Linked DNA regions of Homo sapiens: all the other regions are linked to region 3. The links are contacts of gene promoters, found by promoter capture Hi-C in blood cells and fetal thymus (Javierre and others, 2016). All regions are on one chromosome and are shown on one strand. Each heading gives the region's core, a stretch centred on a gene start or on the middle of the fragment in contact. The rest is flanking DNA. Distances are from core to core; before and after follow the strand shown. Region 1 has its middle 29 kb from the start of MUC13. Region 2 overlaps HEG1 (heart development protein with EGF like domains 1). Region 3 holds the start of ZNF148 (zinc finger protein 148). Region 4 overlaps HEG1 (heart development protein with EGF like domains 1). Region 5 overlaps LOC124906278 (a long non-coding RNA gene). Region 6 overlaps HEG1 (heart development protein with EGF like domains 1). Region 7 overlaps MUC13 (mucin 13, cell surface associated).

Evidence for each region. The method cuts DNA at HindIII sites, captures the fragments that hold promoters and counts their contacts. A CHiCAGO score of 5 or more calls a contact.
Region 1: a fragment that was not itself captured here is called in contact with the fragment with the promoter of ZNF148 in region 3 in 1 of 17 cell types (monocytes); the score reaches 5.8 in monocytes.
Region 2: a fragment that was not itself captured here is called in contact with the fragment with the promoter of ZNF148 in region 3 in 14 of 17 cell types (fetal thymus, naive CD4 T cells, total CD4 T cells and 11 more); the score reaches 11.5 in fetal thymus.
Region 4: a contact is called between a fragment that was not itself captured here and the fragment with the promoter of ZNF148 in region 3, in 1 of 17 cell types (total CD8 T cells). The highest score is 5.6, in total CD8 T cells.
Region 5: a fragment that was not itself captured here is called in contact with the fragment with the promoter of ZNF148 in region 3 in 1 of 17 cell types (total B cells); the score reaches 5.2 in total B cells.
Region 6: a contact is called between a fragment that was not itself captured here and the fragment with the promoter of ZNF148 in region 3, in 9 of 17 cell types (naive B cells, total B cells, naive CD4 T cells and 6 more). The highest score is 7.5, in naive B cells.
Region 7: a fragment that was not itself captured here is called in contact with the fragment with the promoter of ZNF148 in region 3 in 5 of 17 cell types (endothelial precursors, naive B cells, total CD8 T cells and 2 more); the score reaches 7.9 in endothelial precursors.

The regions. Positions count from the first base shown.
Region 1 is chr3:124,961,406-124,965,297 of GRCh38, reverse strand. No RefSeq gene overlaps it. Among named protein-coding and RNA genes, the nearest start is that of MUC13, 29 kb to the right of the region's middle. The HindIII fragment of the contact is 5,337 bases long and covers 1-3,892 here.
Region 2 is chr3:124,996,928-125,000,799 of GRCh38, reverse strand. HEG1 (heart development protein with EGF like domains 1) reads left to right here. Exons shown (of 17, transcript NM_020733.2): 12 at 2,977-3,111. Among named protein-coding and RNA genes, the nearest start is that of HEG1, 57 kb to the left of the region's middle. The HindIII fragment of the contact is 1,794 bases long and covers 1,638-3,431 here.
Region 3 is chr3:125,373,338-125,376,909 of GRCh38, reverse strand. It overlaps ZNF148 (zinc finger protein 148), which reads left to right and starts at 1,585. Exons shown (of 9, transcript NM_021964.3): 1 at 1,585-1,808. It overlaps LOC105374080 (a long non-coding RNA gene), which reads right to left and starts at 1,484. Exons shown (of 3, transcript XR_924427.3): 1 at 1-1,484. RefSeq lists enhancers at 1,261-1,310, 1,421-1,690 and a silencer at 1,801-1,850. The HindIII fragment of the contact is 7,036 bases long and covers 1-3,572 here.
Region 4 is chr3:125,037,356-125,040,916 of GRCh38, reverse strand. All of the region lies in intron 1 of HEG1 (heart development protein with EGF like domains 1), which reads left to right. Among named protein-coding and RNA genes, the nearest start is that of HEG1, 17 kb to the left of the region's middle. The HindIII fragment of the contact is 682 bases long and covers 1,398-2,079 here.
Region 5 is chr3:125,077,031-125,080,552 of GRCh38, reverse strand. It overlaps LOC124906278 (a long non-coding RNA gene), which reads left to right. Exons shown (of 3, transcript XR_007096045.1): 1 at 1-3,522. Among named protein-coding and RNA genes, the nearest start is that of DAGARR, 17 kb to the right of the region's middle. The HindIII fragment of the contact is 1,805 bases long and covers 594-2,398 here.
Region 6 is chr3:125,013,120-125,016,572 of GRCh38, reverse strand. It overlaps HEG1 (heart development protein with EGF like domains 1), which reads left to right. Exons shown (of 17, transcript NM_020733.2): 6 at 2,583-3,453. Among named protein-coding and RNA genes, the nearest start is that of HEG1, 41 kb to the left of the region's middle. RefSeq lists an enhancer at 1,634-1,928. The HindIII fragment of the contact is 3,992 bases long and covers 1-3,453 here.
Region 7 is chr3:124,930,215-124,933,736 of GRCh38, reverse strand. The region is part of intron 1 of MUC13 (mucin 13, cell surface associated); the gene reads left to right. Among named protein-coding and RNA genes, the nearest start is that of MUC13, 2.8 kb to the left of the region's middle. The HindIII fragment of the contact is 3,102 bases long and covers 42-3,143 here.

The DNA.
Region 1 (3,892 bases), core at 141-2,640, 410 kb after region 3:
TGGCTGCCTGTTTAGGTATACATTCGTGAATGAATTGCTTCCTTGGATGCCTTGCAGGTCAGGGATGATGAGCCTCTCATATGCTTTATGGCAAAAACCTTGGCACTGGGGGAGGCCAATAATGGCAGTTTGGGGCATGAAGGTGACCTTTTGGCAGGTTGGATCAGGGCTACGGCCTTCCAAATGAATGGAGGTGGCCAGTAGCACTCTCCTCTCCTGAGCCAGCCCCACCCACTCAGCTCTCCCTTCCCCACAGCTCACAATCCCAACTGAGGTCTGAGCAGGAACCCAGGACTGACCCCTTTCTTGTTCCCACTCAGCTTAGGCAGACTCATAAACATCGCATCATTTCCAGACCTTCTCTCCCCTCATACTAATTTTTGTTTGTATTTTATTTTTAAATTGTGTATATTTAAGGTATACAACATGATGTTTTGAAATACACAGTGAAATAGCTATTATAGTCAAGCAAATTATTGTATCTATCATCTCATTGATACGTGTGTCTGTGTGTGTGGTAAGAGCGCCTAAAATCTATTCTCTTAGCAAATGTTCAGTATACAACACAGTATTACTAACTATGGTACTCTGACCGTACATTACATCTCCAGGCTGATTCATCTTACATAAGTGCAAGTATGTACCCTTTGATCTATTTCTCCCCATTTCTGTGCCCTCCCACCGTTCTACTCTCTGTTTCTATGAGTTCAACTTTTTTTAGATTCCACATGTAAGTGAGATCATTCAGTGTTTGTCTTTCTGTGCCTGGCTGATTTCACTTAGCATAATGTCCTCCAGGTTCCTTGTTGCCCACATTGTTGCAAATGGCAGGATCTCTGTTTTTAATACTGAATAATATTCCACATGTGGTAATACGCAACACAGTTTCTTTATCCATTCATCTGTTGATGGGTACTTAGGTTGTTTCTATGTTTTGGCTATTGTGAATAATGCTGCACCCTGGTGATTGTTTTGAACCTAAAATGGAAGGAACTTCTGTGCATGATAAGCTAGCCTGAGTGCTTTATCCTACTTGTGCCACTGACCTGGCAACACAGAACCTCCACCTCAGGCTTTGATTACCAGCAAGTAAAGAGCTAAAAAGTGATTTTAAACTGTTGGGCTAAACCTCAGCAATGTGCAATGAGCCATTTTCCAGTTGCTTGGGAAGTAAAAGGTAAGGGGCACAATGCATAGATCATACAGGTCAGAGTCCTCTCCCGTACTGGATATTGAACGGCTGTGGCAGCTTTCAGTTCCTAGGGCTGGATTGTGGTAGCCACTTGGCACAGTGAGCAGGAACTTCAGGTCAGAAAGATAAAAAGATGCCAGGAGTAAAGGTATTTATGTCGATGTGTGTTGACCCCATAAATACTTGCAGCACCATCAGCTGGTACAAGACACTCTCCAGCCATTTTGTGGCTGTTTTCCCAGATCATGATGTCAGGCCTAAGAGGCTGCCCAGTTCTCTGAGCCTCAGTGTCCTGATCAGTAAAGTGGGGATAATAATCATTGCCTCACAAAGTTCTCATGAGGGTTAAAGGGGAGAACTCACAGGAAAACACTATGAGTGTTTCCTATGATTTTAATATAAATCAACATAAATATCTTTACCCCTGGGATCTTTTTATCTTTCTGACCTGAAGTTCCTGCTCTCTGTGCCAAGTGGCTACCACAATCCAGCCCTAGGAATTGAAAACTGTGAAGAAATAGCACATTGGTTCTCTTCAATAGGTCCCTCCTGTTACCAAAAGAAGGAAAGATGCCACTGTGGGAAGCCGAGGTGGGAGAATCGCTTGAAGCCAGGAGTTCAAGACCAGCCTGGACAACAAAGCAAGACTCTGTCTCTACAAATTTTTTTTTTTTAAATTAGCCAGGCATGGCGGCTCATGCCTGTAGTCTCAGCTACTCAGGAGTCTGAGGCTGGAGGATCGCTTGAGTCCAGGAGTTCAAGGCTGCAGTGAGTTAGGATCAAGCCACTGTACTCCAGCTTGGGTGACAGGGTAAGACACCACTACCGCCAACAAAACAATAGCAACCACAAAATAGAGGAAAGACAGTTGCAGAATTGAATGTCATCTCCATACTGATATGCTAGTAACTCCCCCTGAAGACCTTGGACTTGTGGTCAAAATGTTCTAATATTTCCCCTTTACTCCTTTTCCAACCTGTTTCCTATATCATCAAGGGATTAATGGGCTCAAAATCATAAATCCTGTGGGGATAGGAACCAATCCTATCCTTGTTAAATATTATCTGCTCAGTGCCTGGCACCTAGCAGGCATTCACTAAAACAAAGAATGAGTAAGTGGGCAGACCAATCAGCCAACAAAATAAATAAATCATGGCAATTAAAGATTCTGGAGCTCTAGCTCCTCTAGTAGCTGCAGGCTGATGACTGGCTGACAGTGGAAAAATATATAGCTGTGACATATCACTGAACAGGAGCACTTAGCAAAGATCTCTTGTAGCAAAGCCCAGGCAAACATCTGTGGAGGAAACACTTTTAAAACACACTAGAAAGTCCTTTCCCTGGGGAATTGTGGAACTGTGCAATAGAATCTCACTCAGCAATTTAAAGGAACAAAGTACTACAACAGGCAATGACAGATGAGTCTCAAAGTGTTGTGCTAAGTGAAAAAAGCTGGACACAAAAAGTCTCAAAGCATTGTGCTAAGTGAAAAAAGCTGGACACAAAAAGTCTCAAAGCAATATGCTAAGTGAAAAAAGCTAGACACAAAAAGGACACAAAAGGCTTTTCCATTTACATTACATTTGAGAAAAGATAAAACTATAGGAACAGGACACAGATGAGTGGTTGCCTGGAGGTGGAGGAGATTTCTGCTATTTACCAAATACGTCTTGCTTTCTTCCTTCCAGGCGCATGGTAGGATGTACTTTTCTACCCTTTTGAAATGTAGCCACATGAGTTGCTTTGACCAAAGAAATGTAGATGGGAGTGAAATGTGTCACTTCTGGGAAGATACATTTTTTTTTTTTTTGAGATGGAGTCTCACTCTGTTGCCCAGGCTGGAGTGCAATGGCATGATCTTGGCTCACTGCAACCTCTGCCTTTTAGGTTCAAGCAATTCTCCTGCCTCAGCCTCCTGAGTAGCTGGGAATACAGGCATACGCCACCATGCCTGGCTAATTTTTTTGTATTTTTTTAGTAGAGATGGGGTTTCACCACATTGGCCAGACTGATCTCGAACTCCTGACCCTGTGATCCACATGCCTCAGCCTCCCAAAGTGCTGGGATTACAGGCATGATCCACTGCGCCCGGCCCCAGGAAGATGTTTTAAGAGCCCGTGTATGATGTTCACTTCTCTAGTCTCAGCAATCATGGAAATATGTGCTGGGATGGAGCTGTTGGTGGCCTGGGACACTGACCGCCTCAAATGAACATAGTGCCTTGCTGACCAGAGTTGGACTGGTATGAGAAATAAATGTTGTTATGTTAAGGTACTGAGACTTAGGCATCACTTGACTTACTGCAGCATTACTTAGCTGGAGTGCTGATGAGTACAGCTCTCCAAAAGTAACCCTATTACTACAGTTCATGCAAATTGTTTGATTCCTAGTTCAATGCCATGGGACATTTATGTTACCTTTTTTTTTTTTTTTTTTTTTTTTTTTGAGACAGATGATTTTTTTTTTTGAGACGAGGTCTTATTATATTGCCCAGGATGAAGTGCAGTAGTACAATCACAGCTTGCTGTAGCCTCGAACTCGGCCCAAGCAATTCTCCCATCCCACCACAGCCTCCTGAGTAGCTTAGACTACAGGCGTGAGCCACCATACCCAGCTAATTTAAAAATAATTATAGAGATAAGATCTTGCCATATTGCCCAGGCTGGTCTTGAACTCCTGGCCTCAAGCAATCCACCTGCC
Region 2 (3,872 bases), core at 1,285-3,784, 380 kb after region 3:
GTTGTAACAGTCTGCTGGTAGATCCATGACATTGACATTCCCAGTGGGCCTGGGTTCCATAACTTCCAGTCAAGAGAGCTTTCTGGAGTGGGCCTGTATATTACAGAGCTTGGGAGCCAGATTGTTAGCCCTTCATTCTGGGATAAGAGCTGGAGCTTGGCCCATTTAAGGCTAGTTATTAATCTGAGAAAAAAAAAAAAAGCTAAACTTTCTGAAGTTGAAGTTACTATTGATGGGGGAGTGAGGTAGAAAGGTCATGCCCCATTATATCATGCTCGAAACTTTGAGACTCTATGGTTTTACTTTTTTGTTTCTCTTGACAAGGATTCAAGGGTACCAAGTTGTCCTCCCCAGTGAGGTAGGAAAGTCACCTTTCAGTTCACTAAATATTTATGGAATACATTCTATGTGATCAACATTGCACCAGGTTACTTTTTGTTTCCCATAAATGCATTCAAATCAAGTGCCTTGCAAATCAAGTGCCAGCCATTTGGATTTGAAAGAGCCTGCTCATGGCAGCCCTACCCACCCTCTGACTCCCATTCTTCCGACTGCTTGTATATGGTTTATGGGAAAGTACCTCTCACCCTTGCTGCCTTGCTGAAGTTCCTATTTACTTCTCCTTTCAGAGCCCGTGAGAACAAAGACAGCTATGCATATTAGCTGAAAAAAACAGGCTTGTTTCCCTGTTTTTCCTCCCAGGTCTTCTCCAGGTTTTGCCAAGACCAGCCTGGTCTCATGCTAACCTTTCTGAGTACTAGAGAGGTGGCCTTGACAGCTTCTGACATCTGGGTGTTTCCAGCATAAGGGCAGTGCTGGGCTACTCTGGACACTGCCATTGGAAAGGAGGGTTTTCTGTCTTCACTTCATAAAATATCCACTTCCTTGCCTTTCAAAGAACTGCAGCTCTTGTCATCTCCAGAGGTTTAGTCTTTGGAAATCCCCCATGGAATGTCTCAGCTTTAGATTTACTTAGAGTCTCATTGTCTGTTTTGGCGGATGTTATGCCCAGGAAAGACCATGGGAATTGTGAATGTAGCAAAATCACATTGCCAGGCTTTATATGAAAATGGGATTCTACGTGGTCCTATTGGATGAATTTATGGTAGAATATTCTTTGAGAATTTGTAGGGTAGCAACTCCTCCACTGCAGAGGCAGGGCCTGTGTCCCATGCTTTTGCATGGATCTGCTTCTGTGCAGGGCACAGTTGCTCCAGCAGAGTGATTTGCCAGCAGGCTGGATTAATGGGCAGGGTGGAAGGAAAACGTGACATTGGCTTCCAGAAAATATCTAATCAGGCCAGGCAACTCTGGCTGGCTGCTGGACAAGGCAAGTGTCAGCCTGGACAGGTTTCTGCCCTGGAGGAATTTCTTTATATTAAGGCTTGAGGACTGGCAAAGCCTTCAAAGAGTTGAGATGAGGGATTGTGGAAGTTCATTACCTCCCTGGTGCCAGCTTTGCAGTGTTTGCCTGGTGAGATTTTCCATTTTTAATTTTTCTCCCTTAAATACAAACTTTTTACAATAAACAAAGGAAATTCTGTCACACACACAAATGTGGTTCTGATTGAGCACGCTAGCTTCCACTGATAAAGGCAGGAAATTCAGCTTTGAGAACTAGAGTTGTGTCCTAAGCTTACCTCGTGTGACCAGGCTGTCTACCGGTCCTGAGTTCTCAGGACTCACAAAAGGGGGCAGATTTCAGGAACCCCATGTGGGGTGGCAGCTCATGTCACCAAAACCTGCCTGGGCAGGGGCAGTTTTGCAGCATTAAAAGGGGTACCTGGCTTCTGAATAGGTTGGCTTCCTCCTTTGGGTGGGAAATGGGAGACCATGCCTGGAAAATTGGCAGCCATTCCTCCCTGCACAATAGATACATGGCCCTTCCCCTTGCATCTTTCTTCCCATTCTGAACTTGAGCTTGCCCCCCAATAACAACAGCAAATATCTAGCTTGCCTTGCCCTGCACATGGGTGTAAATAAGGTACTATCCACTATCCAGTTGGTTTCCTATTTTTGTTCTGTTCTCTGTGTACCCCATATACACAGGAGGCCTATGCACCCTCATTGTGTCTGCTGTACACAACTTCACAGAGGGCCATATGCCCCACAGGAAATGCTTTCTGATAATAATGAAATGATTCTTTGTCATCCATGAGATGAATAAGGCCCTAAAGTAAACAAGGTAGCAAGCCTGAAAGATGGGCTCCTTCTCTGCCTGCCTCTGTTTCTCTCTGCCTGGTCAGTGACAGGCGGCCATGTGTACCAACCAGTCCCTGTGCCAGGCACTGAAGACCCAGAGATGAAGAAGCCTCAAGAACCCATCAGTGGAGTGGGGGAAACTGCCTGATAAGCAGAATTACACTACAGCCCGGGGCAAGCAGATTGTCTTTCAGATCTCTCCTCATCACCAGTCTCTTGTAGGCAGCACGCTGTCAGGACAGCAAGCCACCTTGCCACAGGGAGTGGTTCTAGGTCCCTTTTTAGGCCATGCAGACACACAGAGCTGAGATGTACTTCCACTTGAAACAGGTCTGGCCTGCACTCCTGTTCTTAGTCCAAGTCTCGGCTTCCTAAGAACTCAGCCGTATTTTCTGGTTGTGCTGATCCTTCCTCCGCAGTCCTTTGGAAGACACGGGGCCATTAAGGGCTGTATTTGCAGTGAGCACCAGAGGAGTGAACAGGGCCTGTTTATTCCAATTTCGTTTCTCAGTGGGTCCGTGGCACGCTGTGAGGGTGTTTTCAACGGGGAACACTGGTGCACAGCCTGCGGCTGATCAGAGAAGGAGTGGCAGAAGGCAGTACAGATGGACTCCTGAGAGGAGTGTTGCTCTGTGGAGACTTTTCGGAAAACTGTTCTCAGCCTCTTGAAATAGAGAGTTCATGCAGACACATGAGCTTTGAAGTGGAGGAGATTTTAAGGTTTGAAGTGGAGAAGGTTTTGTTTTGTTTCACTGTCTTGTTTTTCCATTCCAGCGGGCAGCTTGTGCAAGCGGAAGAGTCCCGAATGTGACAAAGACACCTCCATCTGCACTGACCTGGACGGCGTTGCCCTGTGCCAGTGCAAGTCGGGATACTTTCAGTTCAACAAGATGGACCACTCCTGCCGAGGTAGCCACAGCTTCGCCTGGGGTTCTGTGCCCAGTCCTGGGACTCTGCCTGGTGCTCTGTTTCTCTTTCTTGCTCTCTCTCTGTCTTTGCTTAGGCGTGACCATTCTAAACTGAGGGTAACTGGTTCTTGTTATTTTGCTCGTGGCAGGATTGAATACATTATCTCCTTGGAATAATAGCATTATCTTTGACTGGTGCATGCTGGTCTGGCCAATTAAATTCAAAGGAAGACAGAATGGAATGCCTGTGGTAGCAGTGCCTTTTCTTTTTTTTTCCATTTAAAGGAAGTTAGAAAAATTATTGTTTTAATTCCCAAAGCTTTATCTGTTGTCTGCTAATCTTTTAAAGTGGAAGTACAAGCGTGGGGTCAGGCTTATATCTTTCAGAGGCAGCTGAGGCCAGAGTCAGAGCCCGACTCTGCCTCACTGATCATGTATCACCTTGGGCAAGTCACTTTGTTTCTCTGAGCCTCGGTTTCCTCTCCTGAGAAATGGGTATGGTGATCCTCTATTGGATATTTATTCTAAGAGTTAAGGAAGGCAGTGGATATAGAGGCCCTTTGTAAGCTGTCAGCATCTGCTCTTGTATTTGGTCCAGGTTGTTGTTGAATTAATGAGTTCTGGTTTTAAAGGTCTCATGAAGTGCTTGAGAGCAGAAATCTAATTCTACTAACCTTTAAGGTGAGGCTTAAATTCATTTAGTTTCAGGGAAAAACTGCTCAAAGAATGTAGTCCAAGAATACTGCTTTAAAATAAAATTAA
Region 3 (3,572 bases), core at 336-2,835:
TAACCTCCAGGCCTTGAGCCCTTTTCAGTTATTAGTTTTCCCACTGCCTAATACTGAGAGTCGGCTTTCTTGCTGCCAGAGGTGTTTTTCATTATGACGTCTGAATTTGATGCCACTGCGGGTGCTAGAAGTTGCCAGAAGGCTGTCCTCCAGATAACTGTCCCTTGGCTCTAACTTGTGTCATTGTTTTGTTGCAATTAACATTCAGAATATGTGCGGTCATCTTATTAAAATTTATATTTTTTAATGGAGAAAGCACACAGAGAGAGTTGATTGTGGAGCTGTGGTTTACTCTTGCTCTTAGTTACCTGTGTCTAAATTAAGCTGAACCTCTGGGCCTTAGCTATTTCTAAACAGGCATCACGATTTACTAAGGTTAATGCCTGAGGGAACATTAACCTTGCAGACACTAATCTAATTCAGTGTCATCACAAGTGCATAATGCAGGAGTTTGGAATTTTGCCAAAAAGCACTATTCAAATGAACATTTAGTTGGCAAGGGGTGGGAAGGCGGGTGTGGAAAAGGGAAGGAGAACACCAGAAATGGCTCTATAGATATTTTCATGCCTTTTCTTTTCCCTCTCCCCTCAAAGGTTACGTTTAAGTATTGCAGAGAGGCGCTAAATGGAATCTTCATATTATTATGAAGAAATCCCAATGAACGCGTTTTATCCCACGGCAAGTTCCAGATGCTCACAATTACTCAACATTCACTGAGCATCTTTTATGTTATATGGCTGACCTTGTGCTAGGGTGTGTACACAAAGATGAGTAATTGTAAACGATGGCAGTATGCAGAAGCACCTCAGGGCGCCTAATGTTAGCTGACGAAGGCACCATTAAGGAGGTCACAGTTTGGCTAAAGGGCCCCCAAAGGATGAGACAACTGTGTAATCCTAGCTCTATAGAGATCATTACCAAGTCTTTGCCATACAAAGTTTGGGCTTCAGGTGAAATGAGAAGGGCAAGGTTCTGCCCAAGAGGGTCCAGGGCCGGATCTCTTGATCTGTGTCTATGCCCACACCCTGCATCTCAGCTTGCAGACACTAATAGGGTTTGCCAGTTTCAAGGGCGCAGGGCTACATCTTCCGGAAAAGGTGGCATTTGAAGGTGGTAAGAGGCCAACGACTGGAGGTGGCGGCGAAGGGCTAGGTAAGACAGAATAAATGAAAAAGCCAAGACATTTCTGGCAAATAACCTTTCACCTAGGTCCCCGACCCTTCCATTTCCCCAGGCCTGAAACGCTCCCGAATCCCCGAGTCCTCCACTTTCCAAGCGCTGGGCATTGGTTAAGGCTGTAGGAGCAGGGAGTCCCCCGCTCTAAGAGAGTTCCTCAGTTCCGATCTTTTTCAAACCGCTTTCCTCCCAGGCCCAGCCTGGGGGGCCTGCGGCTCGGGTCCAGCTTCCACGGCCACCCTGGGCTGGTGACACGCAGGCGCCGGAATCGAAGCCACGCTGTGTCTTTCCAGCCAGGTCTCTGCGCCAGACGAGGGCGGGCGCCGCGGAGCGCTTCCCGTGTGCGGGGCTTCCCACAATGCACCGGGCCGGCAGTGGCGGCGACCGCGGCGGCGCTCTAGCTGCGGCATGTCTGCGTCTCTACTGCTCTGGGAGGAGGAAGAGAAGGAGGAAGAGGAGGAGGAGGAGGAGGGGGAGGAAGAGGAGAAAGGCGCAGGGGTGGGAGCTGTTGCCGAAGCTGCCACAGCAAAAGTTCTCCCCCCTCCCCCCTTCCCCTCCTCTCAAGGCCCCTAGAAAGGTTGGAGCTGCCGCCGCCTGCAGTCGGTGACCGCGCGACTCGGCGCCCGCCCGCGGTAAAGCGCTCGGCCTGGCAGGCCCGGGCCCGGGGGAGGGCGGGGGAGGGGGAGGGGGCGGCGCGCGGGGGGAGCGCGCGGCGGTAACGGCCTGACCCCGGGGGGAGCGAGCCGTGGCGAGGCTGGGGGTGGCCAGGGGGCCAGCCGAGGCCGAGGGAAACGCTGGGGCTGGCTGGGGGACGTGAGGAAGCAGGGCGCGGAGGGTGGGTTGGGGGGTTGAGGAGGGATAATGACGGGGGTGGCGGAGGCGAGAAGGCGGCCTCCGAGGCTGGAGGCGGGTGTCAGAGGTAGGGGAGGAGGTGGGATGTTTGCACGGGGAGGCCGGAGGGTGCTGGGTGTGGGTGTGAAAAGGCTAGGGAGACACCAGGGCTCTGTCCACCGTGCCTGGTGCAGTGCTTTATGCACCGCAGGCCTCAGTCACTGTTGCTGCCGGAGTGTGCTCTTTGGGAGAAGGGAAGGGCAGGGGTTGGAGAAAAGGGAATGCTTGCAGGAAACGTAGTGGGAGTGCGAACAGGGCGAGGGGCCGGAGGAAAGATGCCGGAGAGGTGGAGGAATGCGGGGAGGTGGCTGTGGAGGAGTCTTGAGGATTCTGGGGGGTGTTCATTGTGCAGATACGTTAGGTATTTCATTATGGAAAGAACTGAAGCGTTTCTCAGGGAAGGAAAGAAGGGAGATAGGAGTTCCCGTGAATAGAAAGGATCGCGTTTGAAGCAAGAGGGAGTGCTAAATAGTAGAGAAGATGCAGGGAATGCATAATAGAATAGACAGATGTAGTATAATTAATAAATATTGGCCTAAGTACTGAAGAGTTATTCCAGATGGGCCGGGATGGCCTAGTTCCGAACCTGTGTGGGCTGTTCAGTAGATGACATCTGGTAAGTGTGGGTCTGGGCCGTGGTTGGGGTCACTGAGAATTAGATTTTAGTCTGTAGTTTGGTCTGTGACATTTTAGACGTGCACCAATGAGTATGAGAACCTCTGAAGCAGACCTTGAGAAAGGGTCTGGCCTGTGGGGATTCCTTAGGCTATGGAGCTTCGATTTTAGAAAATTTGAAGTATTAACACTTACCCGAGGTTGGGTAAATACTATCCTGGCAAACGCTGGAATGGAAATTAATTGACTTGGTGGTTTTCTTCACTGCCCAGTTTATCTGGTCCAGGAGAATTGGTGCCGTATTATTCAGCCTGGATTGCAGTACACAAGATTATAATTAATGGTCGGGGGGAAGACATGCTTGCTGGCTCTTCTTTAGATACTTCATTTGTAGCTCAAATTAGTTGGCTGGATTGGTTCCATAAATCTGTGGCTGGTGGGAGATCTTCTGCCATTCACAGTTCCTGAAGTGAACTGTGAGGGAGTTCTCCAGTGAGAGAATACTCTCATTCAGGCATGATGGCATTGAAGAAAACGTATCAGCCAGCAAAGTGTGGGCCTGCAGAATGGAGGAGCTAGAATATCTGTTTTGGTTTTAGGTTGCAAGGAGGTCAGGACTAGTTATCAGAAGGTCTAGGGGAACCTAGGAGACTGGACGACTCTAGAGCCAGGTTGGAGGGAGGATTAGCATCTCTATGTCAGGAAATGAACCAAGCTCTCTCTGGATTTGCTGAGCTCACACCAGACCAGATTTCCAAGAGGGAACTCTGGGCTAGAACCATACTCTTAAAAACTACCCGGATATTATTCACCTTTTATTAAGAAAAAACTATATACAGCTGGGCGCGGTGGCTCACACCTGTAATCCCAGCACTTTGGGAGGCCGAGGC
Region 4 (3,561 bases), core at 489-2,988, 340 kb after region 3:
AAATTATCCTGTGAAAAGTGCTTTGTCGATTGTAAAATGCATGGGAATTTTTTTCTTAATTTGATCTGTGGGAAGAGAAGCACAGATTCATTCTCCTGGAAAGGACCTGTGAACAGTAGTCTGCCCCTCTTCAGTCTGTGGCCATCCATCATACTCAAAGGGGAATTTTAAAGGAGGGTGCTAAAAGTCCTTTAAAAAAAAAAAAGCCTGTTTTCTCCCCTCCCTGTGTGAACAATTAAATTTTAGGAAAATGTTTTAAAATGACAAAGAAACCCACTCTCATAGGTATAAGGATCCATTGCTGGTATCTAAGACAATGTTATATTTTCATTTGATTGTGGTCCACCAGTCCCCAAATTGAGGATCCCAGGAATGCTCTACCGGGGAGGCAGGAACGGGCAATTCCACAGCTGAGCATCAGTGTCTTACTGTTCTGGAACCGCTCCCTTTTGAGCAATATGACCTTCATCTTTCTTCTACCAGGCGACACCCTAGAAAGACCTAGGGACTTTCTGTAGGGCTGGTCTCACTGCCTTCCTCTTCACTGGCTCCTACCTTTAATTTTGTCCTATCCTTCCCTTGTCATCTGCGTCTCTGTCACTGGCTCTTCTCCTGTCTCTACATTCAAGTTTTCCCGGGAATCAGTCCTTGATCCTTGATTTTTCCCTTCGTATGTCATATCCTGTCCTTTCTCCTAATCAACGGTCCCAAATCTTTAACTGTCTGCCAGACATTTTCCCTTGGAAGTTGTAACATCACCCCAAACGTCACATATCAAAAACAGACTTTTCTTGTTCCTCAAGCTCATTCTCCGTTATGGCTCCACTCTTTCTCTCTTATTCTTTTCGTTATGCGTAAAAATCCTCTCTGAGTTAGAAGCTGATCTAGAAGTCCTCTTGCTCAGTCTTCCAGCTAATAATGTGCAGCTGTTGTCAAATCAAGTCTGTCTGATTCCAAAGCCCGTGTGATAGGCACCATTTCATTCCTCTTAGAGAGAAACAAGGTCAGCACAGTTGTGTTTCAAGCTGCAGTTTGGCTTTTTGTGGGGGACTTGTTTTTTTTTGTTGTTTTTTTTTTTTTTGGCTCTGTTCTTTTGGCCAGTGCCTTAAAGCCTCATGGAATAAGCTGGAGTGTGATGGAATGAGCCCTAGGTTCAGACTGTGTCTGTACTGCTAGTGAGTGCGTGACCTGGAACAATCACTTAATCTTTCTGACCCTCAGTTTCCCCATGTGCTATATGAGGATAATAATACCCGCTTGACAGGGTATTAATGAGATAATGCATGTGAAAATGTTTAGCACGTGGTAAGCCCTAAATAGATGTTAGTGAAATCTGAATCCAAATGGAGGGAAAAGAAAATAAAGGGCTTGTTCTTCAATTGTGTGCCCCAGAAGCTTGTAGCTGGCAGCGCTTGTCATTTGGCCCGCTGCGGGGGTTGAGGCTGAGGTGTGGGGGTGGGGTGGACCCTCCAGGAGGAAATTACCTCTTTGGATAAGACAGCACACTCCCTGTATGCTCCTACTCACTCCACTGCTCAGAAACAATGCAAACTGAAAAGCCCCAAATCACTGGCAGGGAGTGGGGGGTGGCAAGGAGTTGACTCTGTAGCAGCTGCTAATTAGGAAATCCTATTCTTGGGCTGTGCTAGCATCCCTGATGATGCTGGTTCACAAACAGATGTTTTGGAACATTAAGACGCTACAGAAGTGGAAGTTGTCAATTAGGAGGAAAAAAAAAACAGGCAAAGCAAGCAATAAAACGCTCTTGTTAATTTAATCTCCATTCATGGTACAAGGGAAAGTTATGGCCCAGCACAGGGGGCTAAGTACAGAGGGAAGGATGGTATTTTCAGCTCAAAAGATACCTGAGAAATGGGATGTCTAATCTCCAATATGAGGAGGGTTGGTGTGAATGGGGTTTGAATGATTGTCTCTGACCATCTGCGAAGCTGGCCTGGGTGAGGTGCACAGCACCAGCCTACTAAGCCTCCAGGGTGCCCCCTCCCACCCCATGAATGTCTGAGGGGGCACAGCCTCTTCTCCTTACTCCTGACTTCATTGGGCCCAGGCTCTGAAGCTTGAGGAATCCCGTCTCCTTTCCATTTCTCCAGGGCCGTTTCTCTTCTCCACCAAGAATAAGAGCAGGTTCTTTGACACCTCGCCCTCCATGTGGCAGGTTTATTCCAAATTACTCTCCTACTCAGGGTGTACACAGGTGCTGAATAGGGAGCCATGCCCTAAACAGAATTCATCCACAGTGGCCCTGATGAACTCAGGGCTTCAGAAAGGATCAGTCATTGGACTTCAGTACATATTTTAGCATTTGACCCATTGTCCCCACTGCGATGCCACCTGGAATGGTGTAAAGCGCTTGGATGTTCACAGTCAAACAAGACCTCCAGTGGCAGTAGGGGTGGGCTGGGGGTGTTGCCTGCTCCAGCTATGTGGTTTATTAATCCCTTTCCAAGGAAGAGTTAGTAGGCAATAAGAGAGATAGAGGGGTACCCGGAGTTCAATAGGGGACAGTGGGATATTGTTCTTTTGGGGTACCAGGCCAGTGACTTCAAGAGCTTGCTGTGCTGGAGGTGGTCCCAGGTCTCACGCTGTGCGTCCTAAGCTCTCCCTATACCTCCTAGGAGAGGTGTCGTGGAGTGGAATTCAGCGAGGCCCAAACTGTTCCTGCAGCCATTTGTCTAGCCTCAGTGCTTTTGTCAGAGTGGATTCCTAGCTTCCAAGAGGGCTTGGGAGCCTGGGGCCACTCTGGTATGGGCTGTGGTCCACTACCTGAAGAAGGGTTAGGACACTGAGCTTTGATTGATTAGCAGTGCCTGCCAAGGTCATCCACCCAAATCTATTTCTTAAAAGTTGACAACCCTAAATCCATTTAATAGCTATGACATATGTAGCATTCACTGTGTACCAGGCACTCTTTCTAAGCTCTTACATGTCTACATTCCATTGGTTTTCACAACAACCCAGTGAGGGAGATGCTGTTAATATCCTCATTTTACAGAAGGCAAGCTGGGGCATGAAGCAATTAAGGATCTCACTTAAGATCATAGGGTATGAAAGAGGTGGAGCCAGAAGTCTAACCTACATGGTCTGACTTGAACCACAGTCTGTGTATTCCCCCACTGCCTCTCTTATTAAGAATTGAATTTCTAGAGACACGGAAAGCAGTAGTTTCTCACCAGTGCAGGCGACTTTGGTACCCACTGACTAAGGAGAAGTGGAGGTGTAACCACAGAAGGCAGCTCTTTGGGGCCAGCAGGGCCCAGCAGTGGCTGCACTAACCAAGGGTGTATTTGGTGTCTAGCTGCTCTGCAGAGGTGGTCATGGGCTACCAGTTATGGCCATGACTGTTACTGAGTGTAGTTAGGCATCCAGGGGCAGAGCAGCTGAGGCACAAGGAAACTCATCAGTCTTTCAGCTATGCCATCAAAAGCCACTCACATGCTTACATTATGTTTCAGAAATGTCACTGGAACTCCTACCTACACACTTTGTTAGTAGCAAGTTGCATGAGCCAACTTTCTATTAAAGGTCTACAGACTTCACCTA
Region 5 (3,522 bases), core at 247-2,746, 300 kb after region 3:
TTAAGCACCAAGTGCAGGAGCCACCTGTGCTCCCAAGGCGTGTGCTTCAGTTGGTGCTTTGTCACAGTCATTTACTGGTGATAGTTTAATAGAGAAGGGAAGGCTTTTGTGGGGAGTCCTGACTTTGCTTCAGAAAGGACAGCAGAATGGTAAGGAATAGGTCAAAATTCAGGTATGGTCTCATTTGCATTGTTGCCCAAGAGCTTCCTGGAAAGAGTACAGAGCTCTGTGGGCCAAGTCTTGTGGCCTAGATATCATGACTACATGTTGGGCCTAGAGCTCAGCCTGAGGGACCATAGTTGTCGTGACAGCCTCCAGTAGTTCCTGGAGCAGCAAGAATAAGGTCTCTTGTTTACAGAGGTTGTCCCACACTCCTCAGCAGTGTTGAGAAGAGGTTGTCTCCAGCACCTCCCTAGGAGACTGGTCTCAAAAGTCTAGAAACCAGTAATCAGATGTCACTCACTGTAGGATACAAGTGGAATGATATTCTACTAGGAAACAAGCATTTCTAAAAAAATTACAAAAATGTAAACTGGTAACTCTGATAAATGCTTAAAGGTGACATCTCTGATGGTGTCCATCAAGACTAAGCTTGATTCTCTCCATTTGAAGACCTCTGGGTCAGTCCTCAAATCTGTGTCCTGAGGGCTTAAGGTAATCACAGCAATCGGCCCTGACTTTTGAGTGGACAGATCCTTATCTTGTCTGCTCCTTTCCTTTTGTGCTGTTATGACTAATCTTTTTTTTTTTTTCCTTTGAAACATGATCTTACTCTGTCACCCAGGCTGGAGTACAGTGGTGCAATCACAGCTCACTGCAGCCTCAACCTCCTGGGCTCCAGCCATCCTCCCACCTCAGCCTCCCAAGTAGCTGGGAGTGCACCAGCGTACCCAGCTAATCTTTGTAATTTTTGTAAAGATGGGATTTTGCCATGTTGTCATGCTGGTCTCGAATTTCTAGGCTCAAGTAGTCCTCCTGCCTCAGCCTCACAAAGTGCTGGGATTACAGGTATGAGCCACCCCACCCGGCCATGACTAATCTTAATATGTCTATTTTTGCTCATTGTCACTGAGTGGACCTGGAGGCTGAGGGCTGGAAGAGCAACTGGAATTGCTGTAGTGCCAAATATATCCCCTTTCATGTTGATGCCACCCTGGCCAAGGTATCATTTTTGTGTGGCAGCCAGAGAAATCTTTTCAAAAAGAAGGTGGAGCTCTAGTCCTGTGGCTGCCAGTTGTCTTCAGGTCCCGGCCTTTCCTGCCCCCAGGCTCATCTCTATCCAGGACTGCCTGGGAGTCCAGCTCCAGTCAAGTTCAGAGGTAACAAGCAACGTTATTGTAGCTTTATGTAAAATAACCAGAAAGTAGAAATGACCCAACTCTCTATTGACAAGAATGGATCAACATCCTGTTGCATCCACGCAATGGAATCCTAGTGAGTATTAAAGTAATGACACAGGAAACCATGTAGCTGAATTTTAAAGCACTGGGTAAGTAAAGGAAGCCAGGCACAAAAGATGAAATACTTGAAGTTTTATTTGTTTGACCTCCAGGAAAGGCAGTAGCACAATGACAGAAGGCTGGGTCTGGGTCTGGGAGGGGGTCGATTGCCAAGGGCATGACACAACTTTTTGTGGTGAGGAAATTCTTCTTCTTCTTCTTTTTTTTTTTTTTTGAAATGGAGTCTCGCTCTGTCACCCAGGCTGGAGTGTAGTGGTGCGATCTCGGCTCACTGCGACCTCCGCCTCACGGGTTCAAGTGATTCTCCTGCCTCAGCCTCCCAAGTAGCTGGCATTACAGGTATGTGCCACCAAACCCAGCTAATTTTTGTGTTTTTAGTGGAGACAGGGTTTCGCCATGTTGGCCAGGCTGGTCTTGAACTCATGACCTCAAGTGATCCTCCCGCCTCAGCCTTCCAAAGTGCTGGGATTACAAGCATGAGCCATTGCGCCTGGCTGGGGAAATTATTCTGTAACTTGATTTCGGTGGTGGTTTTATGATTATATCCACTTATTAAACTCATTGAATCATACACTTAAGAAAGTAACCACTCTGAAAAGGATAGTACTGAGTTTGAAAACCAGCAGTTTGAAAAAGATGGTACCAAGGTTAAAAACCAAATGCAGTAGAATATCCAAGTATCCAGGAAGAGCACCTTCCTAATGTGATTGATTTTATGGAAAAGAATAAGAGAAGAATGGAGCATGATAAAGAATTCAAACATTATTTTCCACATTGGGGTCGCCAAAATGAATGGCTCGGTCTAGTGTAGGAGGCAGGTGCTACACAGGCTGACTTTCTAATGAGGTCCAAAAATCTTGTATTTCACTCCAGCTAGATTGTGAAAATAGTAATAGTAACACCAGGTCTTAGCCTGGGTTTCTCAGAAAGCGGAAGCTTATGAGCTACCCCTTGATTGGAGAGTGCAGCCACAGAAGCAGGATGAGAGGAAAGAGGGGTAAAGCAGGGGAGGAGGGCTAGCAACAACTTAGTATCATATGCAAATGATGCTTCACCTCAAAGGACTCTGCTGAGAAACCACAGGAACCCTAGGGGTAGGAAGGGATCAGAATTCATCTACTGGCTTCTGCTTCCCATAACCAAAAGTTAGCTCTGGGTGGGCACCAGCAACCCTGCCATTGTGACCTGCACGACGTGAGTGCTTAGCAGGCTGCAGCAAGAAGACACTGGCTGCAGCCCACCAGAACTGGTTGTTCCAGTGGCGGCTGAGATGGAACAAGTGGACTTGCCCCAGAGACAGGTGGAGCAGAGAGGATCTGAGGTGGCACATTAAGAGGGATTATAAATAACGTGCATATTGACAGAGGTCAGTGGTAAGTACAGGTTGTCAGACAAAACATGCATGTCACTGGATCATTCTTATCTAAAGGATGCCCCCAAAATGTCAGTACAGCCGGTATATGTGACAGTGAGACCAGCAACATTTTCTAAGATAGGGAGAGGGGCAGGTTCCTGGCCTGAATTTTACCAAGAAGTCCACAGTTGTAGGTGATAATGTCTGAATGAGTGAAGGTTGTATCAGACCTTCTGGGCCCATGAAGGTCTCCCTTCAGACCAGTCTATAGATTGATCCATCCAATGATCCATCTACCTGCCCACACACCTACCCATTGACCTACCCAGCCATCCATCCATCAATCCATCCACCCATCCATCCATGGCTGGAGCAACTGTTCTCATAACTTTGTAGATGGGTGTCTGAAACCACCTCATCAGAGTCAGGTACACCTCACCAGTCTCAGAGCTCTATCATGTAAAAATATGATCACAGGCCATGCAGGTATAAGCAGACTCCCCAGCCACCAACCTCAGACCTTAAGGATGAGTACAGCCCAATGCCAGAGCATTCTTAAACTCAGGTGAGGAACCAGAACAGCAGTGATTTTCTCAGCTGTCTCCAGGAGTCATGCTAACAAGTCCTCTCACCTATATAATAGGGGGTATCCTGCACAATTATAAATTAGTGTGGGAGTTTGAGGTCCAGGATTCCATCATCCTTCCT
Region 6 (3,453 bases), core at 541-3,040, 360 kb after region 3:
GTCCTAAGCAAAAGGAATCATTTTTCACCCTCACTACTGTGGGGGTCAGGACTTCTACCTTCTCAAACCAGGATCTTGAGTTTCATAGCCTTTCTCTTTTACATCTCTTCAGTACCCGCTTCTCTGCAATTAATGCTCAGTTGGTTCATGAGGAACATATGATTTCAGTGTGATCAGATCTTGGAGTTCATTTATAAAGAGCTAGATAGAAAGTAGCCACATTCCTGAAACCATCTCACTGTGGGTTAACACAATACTTTATCTTTTTCCCTCAGAGTCACCCAAAGCTGGCGGGGTTCTGCACTCCGGCCTTTTAGAGTTCTTGGCCCGCTCCCTTTTCTGCATTCAGAGTCTCCATTTCATGTCTGACTCTCTCTCTACTTTGTTAAGCCTGTAACCCTGATGTGGTCATTGGCCTAAATTTCATTTAACAGAGAGTTTAGGATCTCCCCATCCAAGACCTTTTTCTCTTTGCCCAGAGAAATCGTACTTAGATCCTGCTCTTGCGCCTCTCCTGGTTGGCTCTCCACAGGTCTTGAGCCCTTCAGACTGGCTTGAGTCGCATCTCTGTCTGGCTTCTGGCTTTCTCAGTGATGCTCGTGGCCCGTGCTCATTCCTGTCTCTGTCAATTCAAACCTATCCCAAAATGAATTTAGCCAACACTCAGCTTTACACTGTTTTCCATCAAAGCATGGCCATGGCGTACTGACAGCCAGTCTGGGCTGGGAATGTGAATAAGAACCAGAAAAGAGCCTGTTTTTTGTTTTTTGGGTTTTTTTTTCTTTTTGTACAGCCAGATTAGGAAGGATTTAGGCCAAGGAGAATTGGACCTCATTTTCATCATTTCTGAAGAGAAGGGTTTATCTGATAATCTAACAATCTAAAATTAGTTCTAAGACCCTTTAGGTTTGTAGCATAAACACATACCCAAAAGAGAATGAAACAGACATTTATTCATGTGTCGTCTGCCCTCTTCCATCCCCATCAATAGAATAAAACACATGCATTTTAAAAAATAAAAGAAGACAAAAAAACAAGCCCACCTTTCACCCCCCACCTCAGGCTGTTTCTTTGCCATTGTACTAATGCCGTGTAATGACTGGCCTTGTGGCCATTCATGTATTCCTGGTCCTTCCGGGAGGAAGAGCCTTCCAAGGAGGACTATGGCCTCCCTTCTGGGCCTTGTGCAAATGTCTGAAGCCCCAGTAGGATTATTAGTCTTTCACCAACTGTTTACCTCCTCACCACCACTACCAATTTCTCTGACATAAACTCTATTTATTATGTATCACTGAGCAGAAATCTAGTATCGATCCTATTTGCTAAAGTAATATACCCTCCTATAAATCCAGGGTGCCTGAACAGTTGTGCTGATCCACAGTTCCTCTTGAGGTTTCAATCACTGAGCCATGTTTGCAAGGGCAACAGACATCTCAGATAAAGACCCTAAAAGTACAGGGGAGCGTCTTGGCTCCCACAGCCCAGGAAGTGAGGCTTGGGGCACGATCCTGTCGCTCCAGCCCTGCATTTTTCAGCCATCCTCTTTCACTCTACTTTTAGCCTTGGAAGACAGCCGAGAGCCAGGCCAAGCACTAGGTGACAGTTCCGCCAATGCAGAGGACAGGACTTCTGGGGTGCCCTCTCTCGGCACCCACACCTTGGCTACTGTCACTGGAAACGGGGAACGCACACTGCGGTCTGTCACCCTCACCAACACCAGCATGAGCACGACTTCTGGGGAAGCAGGCAGCCCTGCAGCGGCCATGCACCAAGAAACAGAGGGTGCCTCTCTGCACGTAAACGTGACGGACGACATGGGCCTGGTCTCACGGTCACTGGCCGCCTCCAGTGCACTCGGAGGTGGGGTGTCTTCCACAGTCTCTTTTAACACATCCCTTCAGCTCATCTATTAATTTACTCACCGTCCTGGGATGATTCAGTTAGCTGTCAAGCCAGAAAGTGCCTTACAAGCTCTTTATGGAGAGAACTTTCTAGATTCTCCCACCTCAGGAAGGTGAATACCCCTCCCCAGTTCCCACCCCCAGCCCTCCACACACACTCACCTAAGGAATTTGGGATAGTGTTTGCTGGGAGACTTAAAATAAGAGACCAACCACTTGTGGCTAAGGTCAATCTCCTGGGAAAGAAATATCTCATTCTATAGAATGGAAAGTTGGGAAGATTTTCCTTTTTTCATTTAGGCATAACAGTTATTCTATTTGGGGTCTTAAGAGCTTTTCAGATACCAGTTTGCTTTTATCGAAAAAGGCATGTGGAGGAAATTTGCAACTCCTCTCCATTTTTAGACCCTTAGTCCCCACTTCTCTTTTGTTACCATTTCCACTGCCGCTACCACTGCTTCTCTCAGGAGGTCAGTCTGCTCAGAGGAGACACTGACCACTCCTGCCTGCCCACAATGTCTTTATTCAGAGTGCTCACCCTTGAAAACCACCTCTCCAAAGCAAGTGTTTCACCCACTTGAATTCATTGAGTTTCATGACACTGAAAGTCTGTTTGATAGTGCATATTTCAGAGTTTTGTTGTTCTTTTATTTGACCTAACTTTGGCTTTTCCGTTTACAGTCGCTGGGATTAGCTACGGTCAAGTGCGTGGCACAGCTATTGAACAAAGGACTTCCAGCGACCACACAGACCACACCTACCTGTCATCTACTTTCACCAAAGGAGAACGGGCGTTACTGTCCATTACAGATAACAGTTCATCCTCAGACATTGTGGAGAGCTCAACTTCTTATATTAAAATCTCAAACTCTTCACATTCAGAGTATTCCTCCTTTTTTCATGCTCAGACTGAGAGAAGTAACATCTCATCCTATGACGGGGAATATGCTCAGCCTTCTACTGAGTCGCCAGTTCTGCATACATCCAACCTTCCGTCCTACACACCCACCATTAATATGCCGAACACTTCGGTTGTTCTGGACACTGATGCTGAGTTTGTTAGTGACTCCTCCTCCTCCTCTTCCTCCTCCTCCTCTTCTTCTTCTTCAGGGCCTCCTTTGCCTCTGCCCTCTGTGTCACAATCCCACCATTTATTTTCATCAATTTTACCATCAACCAGGGCCTCTGTGCATCTACTAAAGTCTACCTCTGATGCATCCACACCATGGTCTTCCTCACCATCACCTTTACCAGTATCCTTAACGACATCTACATCTGCCCCACTTTCTGTCTCACAAACAACCTTGCCACAGTCATCTTCTACCCCTGTCCTGCCCAGGGCAAGGGAGACTCCTGTGACTTCATTTCAGACATCAACAATGACATCATTCATGACAATGCTCCATAGTAGTCAAACTGCAGACCTTAAGAGCCAGAGCACCCCACACCAAGAGAAAGTCATTACAGAATCAAAGTCACCAAGCCTGGTGTCTCTGCCCACAGAGTCCACCAAAGCTGTAACAACAAACTCTCCTTTGCCTCCATCCTTAAC
Region 7 (3,522 bases), core at 343-2,842, 440 kb after region 3:
TTCAGCATGAACACCCAACTTCCTGATGAGGTATAGAAGCTTATACACCATCTTGAGGTTACAGAAAGAAAGGGGGCTTGGATCTTGGTAAAACAAGTTATGGAAGAAGGGAGAAGAGGAATTCTGTTGAGGGGCAATAAATGATTATTAGGGAGAATAATTGGATCTGGGAACAAAAATGAACTTGTAGATAATTCTCCTTGGAATTTAAAGATCCTTGGAGACAGTCCTTATCTTGATGAAGGGTCAGCTCAGGGGTGGTTTCCTTCTCGGTCTTCTTTCCTGTAGTGGATAATGACATAACAGGGAGGGGAACAGGAGCAATAGTTCTTCTTTGGTGGATCAGTCCTTACAGCGCTTGTTGACCTCTAAGAGTTTTTAATTTAAAATACTCATTATATCATGGAGCTATATTTGGGGGTGAAATATTTTTATTTCCTTCAGGTTCAATGAGTTGAAATCTAGAAGCTGCTTGCAGAAAGGAAGAAAGTATTTGATAAGGCAGATGTATGAAGAGAAATTAAGCCCTTTCAGAGAACTGGAATGAATGGCATCAGGATTAGAGTTTTTTGAGAGCTGGTTTCAAGCTCTTAATGCTGGAAGGTTGGAGAAGGCTAGCTGCACAGGAGGGGAGGGCTCACCAGATCTCTCCTGCCAACCTTGGGGGCAGATGCTAGGTCCAAGCCTTCAGGACAAAGGAAGAATTGGTGAGGCTTGTATGACTTTCAGGAGCCACTGTTAAAAAAGGCTTGACTTTTTAAAAATAGAATAGAAGGGCGGTAGAAAGGGGAAAGTTGGCTGGGAGGGGACAAGGAGATGAATAGAGAGTTAAGGGAATCAGGAATCATTGAGGCTCAAGGGACCTTAGGGGAATGGAGATGTTTCTTGACCCAGAGAACCCAGGGGGAAGGGCAAAAGTAGGGCAAGCAGGGATTCAGATGGCATGCCACCACTTATTAGCTGTGGGGTGTCTCTGACCCTCAGTGTCTTCCTGTGTAGCAATAGAGGGGAAATCCCTATACTGAAGAGTGACTGAGAGGATTAAATGAGACAAAGAGCCTGATGTGCCGGGATACTGCCTGGCACATAGGGGCTTAATAAATGATTTCCCTTTTTGTCATGTCTGCACTTGGATCTGATTTTCTTTTCTTTCTTTCTTTTTTTTTTTTTGAGACCGAGTTTCACTCTTGTCGCCCAGGCTGGAGTGCAATGGCACGATCTCTGCTTACTGCAACCTCCGCCTCCCAGGTTCAAGCGATTCTCCTGCCTCAGCCTCCAGACTAGCTGGGATTACAGGCACCTGCCACCACACCTGGCTAATTTTTGTATTTTTAGTAGAGATGGGGTTTCACCATGTTGGCTAGGCTGGTCTCAGACTCTTGACCTCAGGAGATCCACCTGCCTTGGCCTCCCAAAGTGCTGGGATTACAGGCGTGAGCCACCACGCCCAGCCTGGATCTGATTTTCAAACTTTGGTTTTGATTTCCTCTTCTTTGTTTAAAAAAGTTATACAAGTAATGCAGACCCACTGTAACAAATCCAAACAATACAGATGTATATGAAATAAAAATTGAGCATCCAATCTGACTTCCCACCCATCTACCTCCAGATATATTAATACTGACAGTTTTGTGGCTACTAAGGTTTGCTTTTGAAAAAAATATTTATTTTATTATTTATTTATTTATTTTGAGACAGAGTTTTGTTCTTGTTGCCCAGGCTGGAGTGCAATGGCGCCATCTTGGCTCACTGCAACCTCCGCCTGCCAGGTTCAAGCAATTCTCCTGCCTCAGCTTCCCAAGTAGCTGGGATTACAGGTGCTCACTACCACACCTGGCTAATTTTTTTGTATTTTTAGTAGAGACGGGGTTTCACTACATTGGCCAGGCTGTTCTCGAACTCCTGACCTCATGATCCGCCCGCCTTGGCCTCCCAAAGTTCTGGGATTACAGGCGTGAGCCACCGCGCCTGGCCTTATATTACTTTTTGAGATGGAGTTTTGCTCTTGTCGCCCAGGCTGGAGTGCAATGGCACTATCTCAGCTCACTGCAACCTCTGCCTCCCAGGTTCAAGTGATTCTCCTGCCTCAGTTTCCCGAGTGGCTGGGATTATAGGTGCCTGCCACCACGCCCAGCTAATTTTTGCATTTTTGGTAGAGATGGCGTTTCATCATGTTGGCCAGGCTGATCCCAAACTCCTGACCTCAGGTGATCTGCCCGCCTCGGCCTCCCAAACTGCTGGGATTACAGGCATGAGCCACCGCGCCTGGCCTGAAAATTTTTAAAAAGTTGCTTTTTTTTTTTTTTGAGACAGAGTCTCGCTCTGTTGCCAGGCTGGAGTGCAGTTGTCACGATCTTGGCTCGCTGCAACCTCTGCCTCCTGGGTTCAACCAATTCTCCTGTCTCAGCCTCCCAAGTAGTTGGGACTACAGGCGTGTGCCACCATGCCCAGATAATTTTTGTATTTTTAGTAGAGACAGGGTTTCATCATGTTGGCCAGGATGGTCACAATCTCTTGATCTCATGATCCACCCACCTCAGCCTCCCGAAGTGCCGGGATTACAGACATGAGCCACCGCTCCTGGCCTGAAAATTTTTAAAAAGTTGCTTTTTAATGTAACGTTAAGGATTTTGGAGGTGTGTGTAAGGAATCACTACTTCAAACATGAGTTCCATCTCAGATTCTGAGCAACCAAGGGCAGGAAGTGTGTCTTGTACACCTTTACGTTCCTCCTCACCCCTATGCCTTGTATAGCACCTTGACTGCAAGAACCCCCGCACAAGCATTTACTGAAACAAATGAAAAATGTGCCAGTGACATTTGAAGAGCCTTTAACAGGCAAAACTTCCCAGGTTGTTTTTGCTTTCTCTGAGAGACTAGGACTGCATTATTCCACAGAATCTGATGAGTGCCTTTGGGAACCAACATCTCATCATAATGAAGAATTCAGATCTGGGAGAAAGGCGTTTGATTGTGACTTTCAGCTAGCTTTGAATAAAGCAGTTATAGGTGTGCCCTGGACAGGGGTGGTGATTATGGAGTGTTCCCCAGAAAGAAACCAGGTCAGGGCATATATTTTCCCATTGAAACCTATGATTTGTACCTCTGTGGACGTTGTGCTATCCTTGTGTTATTTAGAAGCTTTAGGACCTAAGGAAATAAAAAGACTAAAGTTATTTCTACTGCACAGATGTCTTCATATATTTCTGTTATCTATAGATTGAACAAAATAGGTTATTTTACAGTTCCTCTTGGGTATTTTTACTAGATAATTTAAGCCTGGGATATCAGCTCTAAGCTGTCTTCCCTGAAATCTATACAACCCTCAGATAAAACACATATATACACATAGACACACACAAGTGTATTTTAGTTTAAAAAAAAATCGTAGCTATTCACAGCAATGAATTGCTGTCAGCTTGGAATGTGTCTCATTTATTAAAACTAATTGAGCATTCTGAAATGTATTCTCCCTAGTGAACAGAAATTTAAAACCAAAATAAACAAGCCACCAAGTCCAAA